Regions from separate parts of the Homo sapiens genome. Here region 1 is linked to region 2. Evidence: promoter capture Hi-C in 16 types of primary human blood cells and fetal thymus (Javierre and others, 2016). All regions are on one chromosome and are shown on one strand. Each heading gives the region's core, a stretch centred on a gene start or on the middle of the fragment in contact. The rest is flanking DNA. Distances are from core to core; before and after follow the strand shown.

The links. Contacts are between HindIII fragments. The CHiCAGO score rates a contact against its expected background, and 5 or more counts as called.
Region 1: a fragment that was not itself captured here is called in contact with the fragment with the promoter of AHCTF1 in region 2 in 1 of 17 cell types (total CD4 T cells); the score reaches 6.9 in total CD4 T cells.

What each region holds. Positions count from the first base shown.
Region 1 is chr1:243,244,846-243,248,486 of GRCh38, forward strand. All of the region lies in intron 1 of CEP170 (centrosomal protein 170), which reads right to left. Among named protein-coding and RNA genes, the nearest start is that of CEP170, 8.6 kb to the right of the region's middle. The HindIII fragment of the contact is 168 bases long and covers 2,096-2,263 here.
Region 2 is chr1:246,929,418-246,933,245 of GRCh38, forward strand. It overlaps AHCTF1 (AT-hook containing transcription factor 1), which reads right to left and starts at 2,531. Exons shown (of 36, transcript NM_001323342.2): 1 at 2,161-2,531. RefSeq lists enhancers at 1,654-1,743, 2,864-2,913 and a silencer at 2,084-2,183. The HindIII fragment of the contact is 4,479 bases long and covers 1,489-3,828 here.

The DNA.
Region 1 (3,641 bases), core at 930-3,429, 3.7 Mb before region 2:
AATTAACACACTTGTATGTAAAAATTTAAATCACAAATATGATAGGCATGTATTTAATAAAATTTCATGTAGTGAGATTATTTCATAAGGAAAAGGAAATAAGAAATTTGACTATATACATGTTAAAATCTTTGTTGGGTAAAAATAACAAATTTAAAAGGCAATGACAATCTGGGAAAAAATTTTACAGTATCTGTTACCCAAAAGTTGTTATAAGTGAGGGAAGCAGGGTGATACAACAGAAGTATGGTGATCCTAGAATCTGCTACAAGTGAATATAATGATGAACAAGTGAATATAATGTATGTGTGCAAAAGGCACACATACAAGCAACTCAGATCAGAAATACAATGGCCAATAAGCACATTTTAAAAAAATGTCAAGTGTTATTGATAAAAGAAATTTAAATAAGGTTTTTTTTTTTGGTTGTTGTTCATCAAAGTGGCAAAACTGTCCAGATTGGGTGGCTCATGCCTGTAACCCCACCACTTTGGGATGCTGAGACAGGAAAACTGCTAGAGCCCAGGAGTTTGAGACCAGCCTAGGGAACAAAATGAGACCTTGTCTCTATAAAAAAATAAAAAACCTTGGCCAGTGCGGTGGCTCACGCCTGTAATCCCAGCACTTTGGGAGGCCAAGGTGAGCGGATCACGAGGTCAGGAGTTCAAGACCAGCCTGACCAACATGGTGAAACCCCGTCTCTACTAAAAATACAAAAATTAGCCAGGTGTGGTGGTGTGTGCCTGTAATTCCAGCTACTCAGGAGGCTGAAGCAGAAGAATTGCTTGAACCCGCGAGGCAGAGGTTGCAGTGAGCCGAGATCTCGCCACTTCAATCCAGCCTGGGCGACAGAGCAAGACTCCATCTCAAGAAAACAAAACAAACAAACAAAAAACAAAAAACAAAAAACAAAACAAAAAAAACACAAAAAAGAAAAGAAAACAAAAAAACTTAGATGGGCATGGCAGCCCATGCCTACAGTCCCAGCTACCTGGGAGACTGAGCGGAGAGGATCCCTTGAGCCCAGGAGGTAAAGGCTGCAGCAAGCCATGAACACACCACTCCACTCTAGCCTGGGTAACAGAGCGGGACCTCGTCTCAAAAAAAAAAAGAAAAAAGAAAGCAAATTTTAAAAAAGATACGTAATATTCAGCACTGATGAAGGGGTGAAGAAACACACAGTTTCATATGCCAGTGGTAGAAGAATAAACTGATATAAACTGGAGGGGGTAATTTTATTAAAAAGTTAGAAAAGGTTTAATTAGTAGAATTCTGCATTTGTATCTGCATTGTATTTTAAGCATAATTTGTTGAAATCAAAGAAAAACATTGATTTGCACAGAAATTCAGAGTTAGAAATGTCCATTACAGTGTTGTTTACTTTTTTTTTTTTTTTTTTTTTTTGAGACAGAGTCTCGCTCTGCCACCCAGGCTGGAGTGCAGTGGAGCAATCTCAGCTCACTACAACATCTGCCTCCTGGATTAAAGCGATTCTCCTGCCTCAGCCTCCCGAGTAGCTGGGATTACAGGTGTGCACCACCACGCTCAGCTAATTTTTGTATTTTTAGTAGAGACAGGGTTTCCCCATGTTGGCCAGGCTGGTCTTGAACTCCTGACCTCAAGTGATCTGCTGGCTTCGGCCTCCCAAAGTGCTGGGATTACAGGCATGAGCCACTGGGCCCGGCCTGTTGTTTACAATTTTAAAAATACATTTAATTTTCATAAATTGTGTGTAAGTAGATTACATGTTTGAGAAGACAGATTCTATGCCACATTAAAAGTTAGAGCCAGAAAGTTTAACTTCATGATAAAATGTTACCAAATTAAACCAGAATAGACAAGAATACATAACAGGGTTACTGGCTAGTGGGATTATGATAGTACTTAATGGTAGAAAATCTTGTTTTCTAAATTTTCTGCCATGTATTAGGATTAGATTTGTAATATAAAAAATAAAATGGCCTTCAATTTGCAATGCATTATATGCATTTTTTATCCAAGGAGAAGTATTTAATGACCAGCCATAGCAAATCATATTATATAAGGTCTGCAAGATACCTATGTATTGTGAAGTTATAGTCCTATTGCCTCAAAAAGCTTACCACAAAAAGTCCTGTATTTGCGATGTTCCTTTTTCACCAAAATAAGTATTTTGCACTTTACCCCTATTATCATCAAGCAGACTCATTTCCCCCACCCTCCTGCTTCCTCAAATCAGTTTCTAGCTGGCTGCCTAGAGTTCAAAACCCCTAACCAGTCCCTAAGCTTTGAATTTGCACTTTTTCTATTCCATGTAACATGTGACAAACCATTACTCAGTTGAACACTTTCCAGAAAAAAGTCAGTTAAAAGAAGAAAGTCTTCCTGGCTGGCCTAGGGAAAAAAAAAGTAAGGAAGCCTTTTAACTTGCTTACTTTTCTACCTCAATTCTCTTTATTTAGACACTGTTTAGAATTAAAGGATGAGTTTAGGATTGGGAAAAAAAGCTATTATCTCAAAGCCTGGTTGTTCTTTTCTTTCTTTTTTGAGATGGAGTCTCACCCTGTTGCCCAGGCTGGAGTACAGTGACGTGATCTTGGCTCACTGCAATCTCCATCTCCTGGGCTCAAGCAATTCTCCTTCCTCAGCCTCCTGAGTAGCTGGGATTACAGGCCTGCGCCACCACGCCTGACTAATTTTTGTATTTTTAGTAGAGACGGGGTTTCACCATGTTGGCCAGGCTGGTCTCGAACTCCTGACCTCAGGTGATCCACCCGCTTCGGCCTCCCAAAGTGCTGGGACTACAGGCGTGAGCCACCGCGCCTGCCCTGGTTGTTCTTATCCTCTTTCTAGCCCTTTTCTCTACCCTCAAGAATATTATAAAATGATGTGCGAAACTGCCTATCGGGATAGAGTGCATAGGAAGTAAAAAACTATTCCTACAGACTCAAAATGAAAAATATTTTTATTTGCCAACATAGTTCTTCAAATCTAACACTATCAAGTTGGTACCACACTTGGGGCAATAAGGGAAGGAGACCCCTATCTGCAATTATACCTTTCATTTGGTTTTTACATCTACCTCGTTTGGCTACCACAATAAACCTCTGAGGTAGCTGGACTATCACTAGCTTCCTGATAAATTCTTCCTATGAAACAGCATCGCTTCTCCTGTTCAAACATCAGAGGCAGCAGCAGCTGCCATACTCATCCACGTAGGAAACAGCATTGGCCTCTTTATGAGTAAAACTTTGTTCAGGGCTTTAGATTTAGTAGTTGCCAGGGGAGAATAACTGTGAACATTCATGTTGATAAACCAGATTTAAAAAAGGAAATTGCTTTCTCAGAGACCATTCAGAAAGAAAGAGGATACTGCCTGATTTCTTATGAAGTATTTAGGTGATTAAAGGTGATACAGGGGACTGATCACTCCTTATCTCTAAAAATACTTCCTTTACTTGGCTTGTGGGACAACACACTCTTCAGTTTCCTCACACCCCACTGTCCACTTTTCAATCCTCCTCGATGGCGCCTTCTCTTTTGCTCAGCTTTCCATGTGGAAAGTACCAATTCTCAATTCTTGGATCTCTTCTCAGTCTAACTCCCTAGCCAAGAGATCCCTTTAAGTCTACTGGTGATGCTTAACATTTAACTATCCTCAG
Region 2 (3,828 bases), core at 1,281-3,780:
AAAATAAAAATAAAAATACAGTGAAAACATTGGATTTAGAAGGAGGACCTGAAATTTGAGTATTTAAAAAAGGAAAGATGGCACTCCAGGATGAAGGACATGAGCAAAGAAACATCAGAGTGGAAACATCTCTTCCACAGAATGAGTCCAGGATTGATGACGATTCTGGAATAGCAAAAGCATAAAATTTGTTAACATATGAGGATAGACAGTAGCATATACTTATTGTAGAGACCTTTGAGCTAACCGAGGGAAGTTACACTTCATTCTGGGAAGAAAGAAAAGTCCCTGAAAATATTAAAGGTAGGCGTGAAAGACACAACGTTTTGCTTCCTCTTAAAATATATCTGTACCAGCCGGGCGCGGTGGCTCACGCCTGTAATCCCAGCACTCTGGGAGGCCAAGGCGGGCGGATCACGAGGTCAGAAGTTCAAGACCAGCCTGGCCAATATGGTGAAACCCCGTCTCTACTAAAAATACAAAAATTAGCCGGGTGTGGTGGCGTGCGCCTGTAATCCCAGCTACTCAGGAGGCTGAGGCAGGAGAATCGCTTGAACCTGGGAGACGGAGGTTGCAGTGAGCCAAGATTGTGCCACTGCACTCCAGCCTGGGCAACAGAGCAAGACCCCGTCTCAAAAAAAAAAAAAGATGTATCTGTACCTATGAAAAAGGAGAAGCATAAAAAGAAAACAAAAGTCTCAAAACTGATGTATAACGATCTTTTTTATTTTATTTTAGCAACAGGTTCTCGCTCTGTCACACAGGCTGAGTGCAGCGGCGCGATCCTAGCTCACTGCAACCCTCGAACTCTCAGTTTGAGGCTGAAGCTCAAACGTTCCCCCCGCCTCAGCCTCCCAAGTAGGCGCGCGACTAGAGGCGCCACCAATTCCCGGTTGACATGATGTTTTAAAAATTTTTTCAAGATAATTATTGTTGTTTGCAAACTCGTGACAGCTTGGTAGTATGTTACTGAAGGATCAGGATCCAAAAATCACAGTACAGAGACAACGTAGACTTCCCATAGCGCTTGGCACACTTAAAACATCCCTTCAAGTATTAACCTTAACTGGGCTTGTCATCCCAGGTCAAATCCTCCGAAATAAGTAAACCACTCTAATTTCTTCTCTCCTAAGAGACTCTATCAGTGAAAGCTCACAAAAAAACAGTTTAAAAAAAAAAAAGGGGGGGTCTCGCCATGTTGCTCAGGCTGGTCTCAAACTCCTGGGTTCAAGCGATCCTCCCGCCTCAGCCTCTCAAAGTGCTGGGATTACAGACAGGAGCCACTGCGCCCAGCCAAAGACAGTTCTTAAAATCTACAGGTTCTTTAGGATATTCTGAGAATAAATATCGTTTAGGATTTCCCCAAAGGATTTACGTTTTGTTCTATGAAGAACCCAGTTCTTCCAAAAATTTCTACAACTGACGATTTGGAAATAAAAATAACGCTCATCTCATAAAACTTTGCACACAGATAGTATGAACCTCGTAAGCTTTGAGAACAAAATTTCCCCATCTCTCAAAACAAAACACCCAAACCAAAACAGTCAACCAGTGGCAAAAGAAACCGTCCTGTTTCCCAGGTAGGAAAAAGGAAGGCAAAGCACCCCAAGATGTGCTTTTATTTTAAATCTCCTTGATCTGACCAATCGGGTGAGCTGGAACCTCACGGCTGAGCCCCGAGTCCAACTTCTTCCCCGCCAGGACTACTCACTGTGGCCAGGCCCAAGCGCATGTGGAACACACGCCAACACAGGACAGGCTCAGCACGCCGGCCGCTTCCCTCGGGGAAAGGCCCGCCAACGAGTCCATCGCGTGGGAGAACAGTGGGAAAGGGTCGCGGCCCCGGCCGTCCGTAAAGGGACCCGACTGCCGGCGCAGGACGCGAACCACCAGCGCCGCTCCGCCGCCATGTGCCGCCGCTCCTCCGGTCCGAGATTATGTAACGAAGCCCGGCGCCCGCGAGCCTGCCGTACCCGCCACCGCCACCGCTCGCCCCCTCGAGCCCCATCCGTTGGCCCCGCGCACGCCCGGCCTAGGCCCGGCGCTCGCGGGGCAGAAGCCCCGCCGCCGCCGCCGCCGCCGCCGCCGCCGCCGCGGGTCCAGGCCGCGCGACCCGCCCTCCGCCGCGCGGGCCCAACCCCCTCCCTCCCTTCCCCCTACCTGAACGGGGCGGGTGAGCGCGCCGCCGCGGGCCGAGTCCACCGGGTCGCCAGGCCAGGCGCGAGCTCCTCCCGTGCGGGTCCGTCACAGCATCTCCCGGGAGACGTGGCCGCCACGGGCCGGGCTCACACCCCTCCGCCCGGCTGAAGCCGCTCCTCTGCGCTCCGGCCGCCGCCTGCGACCTCCCCGGCCACCTCAGAGCCACACGCCCCCGAGAGTGCCTTCGCGGGCTGTAGGCCTGCAGACCGCTCAGCGGCTAAAACGCAGTCGCTGCTCCCGCCGCGCTTCTGGGTCCTTCCCCTTGCAACGCTGCCTGCTCGCCTCGGACAGCGCCGGCCCCGCTCTGCGCATTACCCTGCGCCGACAAAACCGAGTTCCACACGCCCCGGAAGGGAGGGAGCAGAGGAAAGGGCGGAGAGGGAGGGGAGAACCGGCGGGAGATCGCGGCTGCAGGGACCAGAGTTCTCGCGATGGTTCCGCGCTCTAGCGCCGGCTCCGCGGGAATTTTCAAACTCTCGGTGAAAGAAGGAGGTGGGAGGGAAAGGGAGGAAAGAGAAGCAGGGCCTGGAAGGGCGGATCATTTACAAAAAAATCGGGTCTCTCCGCCTCCGAGGAGCTGGTGGGGAGAAAGACTACGAGTCCCACAGTGCCTTGCGCGTGAAGCCGCCCTGGCGGCCCCGGCGGCGCGCCCCGTGCGCAGTTGGGAGTGGTAGTCTTCGCTGGGGGTCGCGCCGGGCTCTGCCAGCCGCCTGCTGCGATTGCAGGCGGACTCTCTTGTCACGTAATCGTGTGGCCCTGCCAGCTGGGGGCCGAGTGATAATCTTTCTCCCATAATTGGCAGCTTGCATTCTGTATTTTCTGTTCTGTGCTCCCACTTTTCTTTTTTTCTTTTTCTTTTTTTTGGAGACGGAGTCTTGCTCTGTTGCCCAGGCTGGAGTGCTGTGGCACGATCTTGGCTCACTACAACCTGTGCTCCCGCTTTTCATGCCAAAGGTGGGCTCCCAGACTTCTGGGGAAACGCTTTTTCCACGGTGCTGTTTTTTCTAGCATCCTCCTGTGCTTTCATGGCCAAAAATGCTCGCGCAGCCTAGCCTAATCTTTTTAGTCAAAATTTTACCCCAAATCACTGTTATCTTTTTGGTCACCGCGGGTTTTCATTGTGGAATTTCTTATTTCTTGTTAGTATCTTCCTTTGAAGCAAATCCCAGCGCCAAACATGTTTCAAACAGATAGGGAACGTATCCTTAATACTAAGTAGTAAGTAAAAGGATTATAACATGAGGTAGAGTAGGGATTTTAAGAAGATGCTCTTTTATCAGGAAAGTTTCTACTTTTCTGTTACCTTTCATATGTGCTTTTTAAATTTTTTTATTTTTGAGACAGTGTCTCGCTCTGTCGCCCAGGCTGGAGTGCAGTGGTGTAATCAAGGCTCACAGCAGCCTCGAACTCGTGGGCTCAAATGATCCTCCTACCTCAGCCCTCCAAGTAGCTGGGACTATGGGCATGGACCACCATGCGCCACTACGTCCCATTAATTTTTTTATTTTATTTATTTATTTATTTATTTATTTATTTGAGACGGAGTCTCGCTCTGTCACCAGGCTGGAGTGCAGTGGCACAATCTCGGCTCACTGCAACCTCCGCCTCCCAGGTTCAAGAGGTTCTCCT